3 separate regions of the Homo sapiens genome follow, and all the other regions are linked to region 2. The links are contacts of gene promoters, found by promoter capture Hi-C in blood cells and fetal thymus (Javierre and others, 2016). All regions are on one chromosome and are shown on one strand. The core of a region is centred on a gene start or on the middle of the fragment in contact, and the rest is flanking DNA. Distances in the headings are between cores, read along the strand shown.

Region 1 (3,296 bases), core at 414-2,913, 87 kb after region 2:
TAGTTAATAAAGATTCTTACGGTTGGTATTTTATTTCTTATGTATTTCTTTTTATTTTTGAGCAGTCTCTGTGCCAAGACAGAGTCCGTTTCTTTCATTCTTAATAGGCCAATAATGCTTGCTTATAGACATATCGCTACTAAAACCTTTTCTTTTTGGACTTCTAACACATCTGATTTCCATCTTGTCTGTTCCAGTAGCTTTTCTTGTAATTTCATCTCTGCTTTAAATGCCAGTTATTGTTTTTATGCTGATTAAAAACTCAGACTTGCATATCATTAGATAATCATAATCATCTCTGACCAGACGAGGCAAATCTTTCCCACTATTCGACTGGCACAAAATAGTTGCGGTTTTTACCATTACTTTAATTTTGCACCAGCCTAATAGTTGTCATGAAGTAGTAGAAGTATTGGGTATAGAATCAAGACCTAAGTCTGGAGGCATCTCAGCCACTGTCATTAGTTATTTGATTATGAGCAAATCACTTAAAGTGTCTGAAATTCAGTTTTGTCATCTGTAAAATGACATTTATAAAACTTGTTTTATGCATTGTGAGGACTAAGTGAGATATATAGTTGGTTTTATAAGTTATAAAGCAGTAAGAAACACTGACAACAGCTTTATTCTAAGTCATATGTGAATTTTACACAATGTAAAATTTGGGTAAAACATGTCCTTTCAACCTTCCACAAATCTTATTCTTCTCCCTAGAGGTAACCACTATTAGAAGTTTGTTATATATCCTTCTTTATATTTTCGATGCATTTAGTTACCTTTTTTTTTTTTTTTAAGAGATGGGATGTCGCTGTGCTGCCCAGGCTATCTCAAACTCCAGGGCTTGAGTGATCCTCCTGCCTGAGCCTTCTGTGTAGCTAGCCATTTCTGCTTGAGTGTTCTGTTCTGCTGTCATTTAATATGACCTGAGGTCATTTATAAAGATTTTACCTTATTTTAAAAACCTTGCAGGTGGGATGTTGAAATTTTGCAATAATTGATAACACTATTACCTTATTATTAATGGAAACTGAGGTTTTTTTTCCTAGTTTTTCACTAAGGCAAACAACACTGTTTTGAAAATCTTCGCACATGCTTCTTTGTCTAGATAGAGATGTGAAGTTACAGGAAGGTATATGCATTCAATATTTTGATAGTACTGCCAAATTACTTTCCATAACAGCATCCCAATATACTTATATTCCTACTATTAGGTGTGAGAGTATCTATTGACTCATCTTTTTGCCTATTCATGGTGTTTTCATTTTTGCTAATCTCATATGTAAAACATGGTATCTCAAATCTAAAAGAATGTTCGTAGGCAGCATGGTGTGAGCACAAAAACCATTAAGTGGAAACAATTCAATTATCCATTAACAGGAAAATAGGACAGATAAGTAATTTATTTGACATGTTTATAGTTTATAAGAGAATACTAAATGGCAATCATAGTAAAATACAGTTATGTGCCCTAGTGGAGGTGAATCTTACATAGTATTGAGCAAAAATGCCAAATTACTGAAGAATACCTGCAATAGGATCCATGCCTGTAAAATTCAAAATCACGCAAAATTAATGCATTTGTAAGAGACAGATATATACAGGGAGGGCTTGAGAGTTCCAAATAGCCTTATCTGAGAGGTAGGAAATAAAGAAGAGTGCTAAGGCAGGTGGAGGAGTAAATCCATTTCCTCTGACACATCTCTGTGCAACCTGTTATGACCAACTTTTCTATTGAAGTTTTTGACAATACTGGCTTATACGAATGTGATCTTTTCCTTATATTTTTTTCATTGTTGAACTCCAGGATTTTATGGAATATGGTTCATATGTGGGATGTCCTCTGGGAGTGATGAATTTCTGTTAATATGCTTTTGGGGTTTTTGATTACTTTCTTAATCAGATAATCCCCTTCTCAGACAATCATGAAATGTTTATTGTAAGGGAATAATATGGAATCATTAGTAGGGATGAGAACCTGGAAAAATGGAAAGAACAGGGGTTTGTAGTCCAGCAGACACAGGTTGGCAGTTTGAATTTCCCATTCAATATCTATGTGTTATTGGGCCAGTTACTTACCTTCTTTCAGTTAGTTTCCCCAGTGATAGGAAATATATTTTTGTATACTGCTATATTATCTCATTCTTTTTGCCTCTATCTCTTCCTCTTTTCCACCATCCTGGAACTGTACTGATTAGGTGCTTAATAACTGGGGGGTTATCATCATCATTGTTAAAATTTGTAGAGAATGGTGTGTGGAAGTAAATTTATAGAATCCAGAACAAACAAAAGGCACTTGTGCATTTCGGAAAGAGCCTTGTTCTTTTGTTAAAATCTAAACTGCATGTCTCCCCTATAAAAATCAGTATGAAAAATAGCCAACATTGCCTATAACTATTATTATTTTTAAATAACAGATTTAATGAGATATAATTCACAGACCATAAATCTCGCATTTATGAAGTGCTTTTAGTGTTTCAGTGGTTTTTAATATAATAATGGATGTGTGCATCCATCACTAAAATCTAACTCCAGAACATTGTCATCTCCCTCCAGATAAACCTGGTAGCCGTTAGCAGTCACTGCTCATTTCTTCCCGCTAGTCCCTGGAACCACTAATTTATATTCTGCCTCTATGAATAATCTGCCTATTCTTGATATTTCATACAAATCAAATTATATAATTTGTGGCCTTTTGTGTCTGTTTTCAAGCATGGTGTTTTCAGTATTCATCTGTGTTGTATCTGTACTTTATTTTTAAAATTACTGAATAATATTCCACTATGGATGTACCATACTTCATTTATCCATTCATCAATCGACGGACATTTTGGTTTTTTTCTGCTGTTTGGTTATTATGAAATAATGCTGCTATGAACATTCATGTATATTATTTTGTGTGGACATATGTTTTCAGTTTTCTTAGTTACATACCCAGGTGTGGAATTGCTGGGTCATATAACTCTATGTTTAATAGAAGGACTATCCAACTGTTTCCAGAGCAGCTATACCATTTTACATTCCCACCCGCAGTGTAGAAGAATTCTGATTTCTCCATGTCTTTGACAATACTTATTGTTGTCTGGCATTTTGTTTATAACCATTCTGATGAGTGTGAGTTTTATCTCAATGTGGTTTTGATTTGCATAATGACTTATGATGTTGAGCATCTCTTCATGTACTTACTGGCCATTTGCACATCTCTTTTGCAGAACTGTCTGAATTCCTACACATTTTCTGGTTATTTAGCTCCATTTATTTATTACACATTCTTTTGGGTGTCTACATGTGTTAGATAC
Region 2 (3,185 bases), core at 641-3,140:
CAAACACCTTTTATATGGAAGTTCTTAGTCACCACTGGTCCCAGATTACGTGGGCAGGAGGTGGGAAGCCTGCGTTCTCATCTGGGTTGGTCTGACTCTGAAGCAGGGATCTTTACTGTTGTACTGTTCCAGCCCCAGCCAGGTTAAACCCAGGTTCAAAGGCCAAATCACACACTGGTTGGAAATGACCTTGGAAATCATCTAACCCAGCGTTTCTCAACCTCCGCACTATTGACATTTGGGGTTGGATAACTCTCCTGGGGGGACCGTCCTGTGCATGATAGGATGTCAAGCAACATTCCTGGCTTCTACACACTAGATGCCAGCAGCACCTCCCCACTGTAACAATCAAAAATGCCTTCAGTCGGCCAGGCGCGGCAGCTAACTCCTGTAATCTCAGCACTTTGGGAGGCCGAGGCAGGCGGATCACCTGAAGTCAGGAGTTCGAGACCAGCCTGGCCAACATGGTGAAACCCCATCTCTACTAAAAATACAAAAATTAGTTGGTGGCGCACACCTGTAGTCCCAGCTACTGGGGAGGCTGAGGCAGGAGAATCGCTTGAACCCAGGAGGCAGAGGTTGCAGTCAGCCGAGATCGCGCCACTGCACTTAAGCCTGGGCGACAGAGCGAGACTCTGTCTCAAAAAAAAAAAAAAAAAAAAAAAAAAAAATGCCTTCAGTCACTGACAAATGTGGGAGTGGAGGTGGTGGAATGGCAAAATTTCTCCTTGGTTGAAAGCCACTGATCCAAACCATCTCATTTTACAAATGATGGAGCTGAGGTCCAAAGAGATGAAGTAACTTGTTTAAGCTAGTTAGCAAAGCCAAGATTAGAATCCAGGTTATTCACGCAATATCCTTTTATTTCTATAACGTACAGGGCACGATATGGAACTCAGAGGAAGTCACTGCAGTCCTTGTCCTCACAGTCTGGTAGGGGAGAGAATCTATTGCACAGATATCTCTATCTCCACGAAGTTGGTAAGTCATAAAGTGCTCCTCAGGCAGCAAGGTACGAAGAAAGAGAATATGTTCTCGTGTTCTGAATTCCGGATCTGCCACTTTTTTGCTGCAGGATTTAACTAAGGTTCAGTTTCATCATCAATGAAATGGAGATCATGGTATCTACTTATATCACCAGTTTGAAACGGGTCTGTGGATGCATTGTGCAAACTCTAAAGCTCTTACAAACATCGGGTATTATTACTAACTTCATTAGGAATGTGAGTTATATTAGAGTAAAAGCTCTCAGAACTGGGGTGAACCATAGAGGGGTGGCTTCATTCCTCGACCTTCCAATTTGAGACATTTTTTCTTCTGCGGGAGGGGAAGCAGGCAAATAGCCTGCCTCTCACAGAGTGCCCATTCCCTCTCCGGGAACCAAGGTGCTCAGGCGAGTAAACTCAGGACTTAACTCTGTACAACTAGTACCGCAAGCAGGAGCCACTCCCTGGCCTTCGGGTCTCTCAAGCCCCGCCTGCTCCAGGATACGGCCCCGCCCAGAAAGGAGACAGACCCCGCCCCCCCCGCGCTGCCCCGCACTCCAGCCGCGCTGTGCCTCCAGGACAATCCCAGGCCCGTGCCGGAGATTCCCGAGCTTCCCCGATCGCTTCCCGGCCTCCCTCGGGCAGCCAGCGAGGAGACTACGGAGATTGCCGAGGGGGCCTGGCCCCGCCCCCCCCGCGGGCCGCCACCGCCCCCCTCGCCGTAGCCTCCCGCGCGGGCTGGAGTTCTACATCCCGGTCCCTCCCTCCCTCCCTCTTTCTCTCTCCCCGCCTTCCCGGTGCTGCCACAGTGGCGGGTCGGAGGATCCCGGCCAGTCAGCTCGTTCCTGCCTCGCGCCCCTCCTCCCCCCAAAATAAACAGCCCTCCCCACGCCTCGGGAGCCCGGACCGCCCCCTTCCTCCCTCGGCCGGCGTGCTGTGAGGGAGAGTGTGAGCCAGCGCGGCCGGTGGGCGAGCTCCGGGAGTGCGAGAGGCGGGGCGGCGCGGCGGGCCGGGCCGGGTTTCGCGTGTGCGTGCGGGGGCGCGAGCGAGTGCTCATCACGACCCGCCAGTGGCCCCGCGCCGACAACCCGGCGGGCGGGCGGGCGGGGAGCAAGCGGTCAGGCAAGGAGCGGCGGCCGCGAGGCGCGGAGGGGCGCGGAGTCCGCTCGCGCGCACGCACGCACGCACGCGGGGGCGGGGGCAGGCGCGCGCCCGCCTGTCGCGACAGTCGGGGCCGAGGCCCAGGGGGAGGTGGCCTGTCGCGGGTCGCCCGGCTCCCGGAGGCGAGGGGGGCGCGGGCGGATGGCGGAGGGCGCCCAGCCGCATCAGCCGCCTCAGCTCGGGCCCGGCGCCGCCGCCCGGGGCATGAAGCGGGAGTCGGAGCTGGAGCTGCCGGTGCCCGGAGCGGGAGGAGACGGAGCCGATCCCGGCCTGAGCAAGCGGCCGCGCACTGAGGAGGCGGCGGCCGACGGTGGCGGCGGGATGCAGGTGACCGCGCGGGACGGGGCGCCCAGTTATTGCGGGGGTGGGCGTGAGGGTCGACACCGGGCTCCCCGGCTTGGAGAGAGGGAGGGCCTCCGGGAGTCCTGGGTTGGAGGTGGGATGGGGGGCCATTCGGGGCCTGGTTGGAAGGTGGGGCGAGCTCGGGCTAGGAACGAAGGTTGCAGGACTGAACCTGGTGTGCCCGAGAGGGTCCTGATTCCTGAGGGGCCAGGAGGCACGACGAGTGGATAGGTTTTGGGGGGAAATCGAACAAGGTTGAGATGGATTCCATTTTTTCAAATCCTTCCTTAGTGCCTTGGGGTGGAGTGGAAGCCGGGAAATCCTGGCTTCTCTGGACTGAGTCGAGGAAAAGGAGATCTGGTGGGAAACCTCCCGAGAAGAGGGAGTACCTTTTGGCAGCCCTGGGCACACGCTGGGATGGGGAAGAGAAGTGGCATTTCAATGAGAGGAGTGAAAAGAAAACTCCTCGAGAGAGCCCCGAGGGGATGTGGCTGAGATTGTGGGTTAAATCACACAGAGTGTGAGAAGTACAAGGAGTTTGGTAATGTTATGGGGACACGGTGGTGCTCAGTCTCATTTACTTTGTGGAGCATACTAATGAGTCTGAAGGGAGACACTAGACATGTCCCTCCTGTTCTTTGCCAATTGCATTCTACATCACCAGGACACAAAATAGCTCTTTAATGTCCCGGGCTA
Region 3 (3,012 bases), core at 139-2,638, 70 kb after region 2:
CTCAAATGGTGAGCTTTTACCCCATTTGAAGATACTTAAAGTCATGGGTTTAGGCTCTGAAGGCATTTTCATTTTCAGATCAAGGGCTCTTTAAATGTTTAGTTTAGCAGTGGCCGTGTTTTGAATGATGGTAGCATCTGAGGAATAAGAACATAGCCTTCCCAGGGCGACATCTTCTGAGGTGACCCATTTGGATTTATTTGTTCAAGTGTGTCTGTTAAAATCAGTGACATTACCATTGGGTAATGTGGGAAGCAGCTTTAGATGGTGTGTCTGAGGGCACAGACTCTTTGAAATCGGGTTGGTTCAAGTCTGAACCCCTGTTCTGCAGTTCACTCACTGACCTTGGACAAGTTAGTCTCTTGGTGCGTTGGCTTCCTCATGTGTAAAATGGGAATGATAGTGCTGTGAGTACCAACCTCACAGTGTGGTTTGAGGACTAAGTAAGCTAATATATAAAGCTCTTAGACATTTGGTGTGTTCTCAGTCAGTGCTTGCTGTGATTATTGTCGGTAATAATTATATATTTCTTTGAATTACAGAATTCTGAGGTAGAATGTGCCTGGAGATAGTATAGCTCAGTAGTCCCTGTTCTGTACAGTTGGCGTATTGTATCTGTGGGGTCCACATCTGTGCATTCAACCAACCACGGATTGAAAATAATTCAGAAAAAAAATAACAATGCAACAATAAAAATAATACAAATAAAAATACTAAATAACTACGTAGCATTTACACTGTATTAGGTATTATAAGTGATCTGGAGATGATTTAAAATCTCTGGGAGGATATACATAGGTTATATGTAAATACTGTGCTATTATACATCAGGGACTTGAGCATCTGTGGATTTTGGTGTCTGAGAGGGGTCCTCAAAACAGTCCCCCATGGACATCAAGGGATGACTGTATTGAAGTCAACCTGGACCTCATTCCAGACACTACTGAATCAAGGAGGGAAATCTGTAGTTTTTAGATTATTCCCAGGTGATTCAAATGATCGGTCAAGATTGGGAACTATTGAGTATAATCTGTTTACAGTATGGCCCCAGCACTAGAAGCTTCATTTCCTGGTAGATGCAGAAATCTCAGACGCCACTGTAGACCTACTGAATCAGAATCTACATTTTAACAAGATACCTAGTGACCTGTCTGCATGCTAACATTTGAGAAGCACTGCTTTTCTTCTACCAATGGGAATAATTGGGTGATAACCGCAGGTTAAAGATGAATTATCTCTCCATTTTTCCCATTGCTGGAAGGGAAACAGTGTGGCTAAACCAGTGTATAGATAATCATACACTTACCTTCCCTATTTCTTGGCCTAGGGGTAAATGCTTTTCTGGACTAAACTGCTGCGTAACATGTAACAGAAAGAACAGTTATAATTATGGCTCTGGCTCTACTGTTTACTAGCTATTTGGCCTGGATCCAGTCACTTAATCTCTCTGAGTCTGACTCTCCTCACCTGATAATGGAAATAATACCCAGAAATAATGTATATCAATTATCTAGCGCATTGCAGTGCCTGCATATGTCACTGGCTTTTCCTTTTCCCTTGCCTTCAACCTTTCATTGATAAATCTGTAGTGTAGTTCTAGTCCCTTAGAAAGGGCCACCAGTGGAGTCTCAGTACCATCTCATCTCTGTGGGCTCTTCTTGCCCTTCTCCCAGCTATCTTGAGTATTTAATTGTACTTGCAGAAAACTAAGCTTTACACAATATATATATATATATAGTTTTCTCTATCTGTTTCTGCAAAATGCCTTTTACTTAATGGAGACTATTATCTAAGAGGGCTAGAAGATGAAGAACTAAAGGATTTGAGTAATTGAGTTGATACAGGAATCAAAGTATAACGAGATATGACAGGCAGCTCTTTTATGAATTCTTAATAGTTGACCATTTGTTTAAAAAAATGTAATTCCTGGTTTTTAAAACTTGGCATCAAGAAAAAAAATCCTCGGTAGGTTTGAAGTTGTTTGAAGTCTTTTAGATTGGTTCCAAGCAAGAATTAACGTGGTAATTATCAGAAGATCACTGAATTGGTAAGTAATGAGCATTATCTTCTTTCTGACCAGGGAATTAATACAATAAAAGGAAGTTCAGGGACTTGCTCTGAGGACACTAGTAGTAGGTGGCAGAGAGTCTAGGTCAGAGAGTTGGCAGTTGTAGCCAGTAGGGCATTGGAAGCAACAGCAGCAGGAGGAAATAGAAAAGTCCAGTTTTACCCAGATCTTAATGGACTTAGGGATAGGCAGGATTGTGAACTCAAAGCATATAATAAAAATTGTTACAATAATAGTTTTTCTCTATGGGGTAGGTATACTTTCAGGTGCTTTGTATACCTTGTGCCTAAACTTAACATCCTTGCAAGGTGTAGACATGATCACATATATTTTATAGACCAGAAAATAAAATTGAGGCCCAGAAAGGTGAGTAACTTGTCCTAAGTTGTTCCTCTAATAAACACCAGAGCTGGTTTAACATCATGTTCAATAGCAATGTGAGTGAAGAGACTGTTATAAAACTCAATTGAAATAATGTCTATCAATTAAAATAAAATTTATTATTTTGTCTATAATGACTTTTTTTGGGGTAGAATTGTTAATTTAAATTTAGACTGTGATAGTCAACTCAGCCTGTCTTAAAGGGACTTTTTTGAATGTTGCAGAATGATCCTTTGAAATGTATTTCTTTTATACTCTGAGGCTAATTAAGAGGTATCTTTTGTTTTTTTAAATGCCAAAGCTTGTGAAGTCTTCAGTTTAGTGAAACACCAGTTTAAATTGAAATATCACAACACAAACTGATTTGTTGGTGGTTATCAATTGGCATATTTAGTCATAATGAGTATTCACATAATTGTGTCTGTTAGTCTGTTATTCCATTCAGATCCAGATGTAGATAATTATCAATGATTGCACAGAGTGAATCATGTATTTAGACAGATTTCTAAGTTACGGTTGGAAGAACTACAAATGAGAGGACTTGGGTTCCAGGCCTGTTTTTG

Evidence for each region. The method cuts DNA at HindIII sites, captures the fragments that hold promoters and counts their contacts. A CHiCAGO score of 5 or more calls a contact.
Region 1: a contact is called between a fragment that was not itself captured here and the fragment with the promoter of RBFOX2 in region 2, in 1 of 17 cell types (endothelial precursors). The highest score is 6.6, in endothelial precursors.
Region 3: a contact is called between a fragment that was not itself captured here and the fragment with the promoter of RBFOX2 in region 2, in 1 of 17 cell types (endothelial precursors). The highest score is 8.6, in endothelial precursors.

The regions. Positions count from the first base shown.
Region 1 is chr22:35,940,220-35,943,515 of GRCh38, reverse strand. The region is part of intron 1 of RBFOX2 (RNA binding fox-1 homolog 2); the gene reads left to right. Among named protein-coding and RNA genes, the nearest start is that of RBFOX2, 87 kb to the left of the region's middle. The HindIII fragment of the contact is 3,380 bases long and covers 1-3,296 here.
Region 2 is chr22:36,027,529-36,030,713 of GRCh38, reverse strand. It overlaps RBFOX2 (RNA binding fox-1 homolog 2), which reads left to right and starts at 1,890. Exons shown (of 14, transcript NM_001349999.2): 1 at 1,890-2,474. The coding sequence starts at 2,289. RefSeq lists a silencer at 1,655-1,724. The HindIII fragment of the contact is 7,441 bases long and covers 1-3,185 here.
Region 3 is chr22:35,957,685-35,960,696 of GRCh38, reverse strand. The region is part of intron 1 of RBFOX2 (RNA binding fox-1 homolog 2); the gene reads left to right. Among named protein-coding and RNA genes, the nearest start is that of RBFOX2, 70 kb to the left of the region's middle. The HindIII fragment of the contact is 651 bases long and covers 1,063-1,713 here.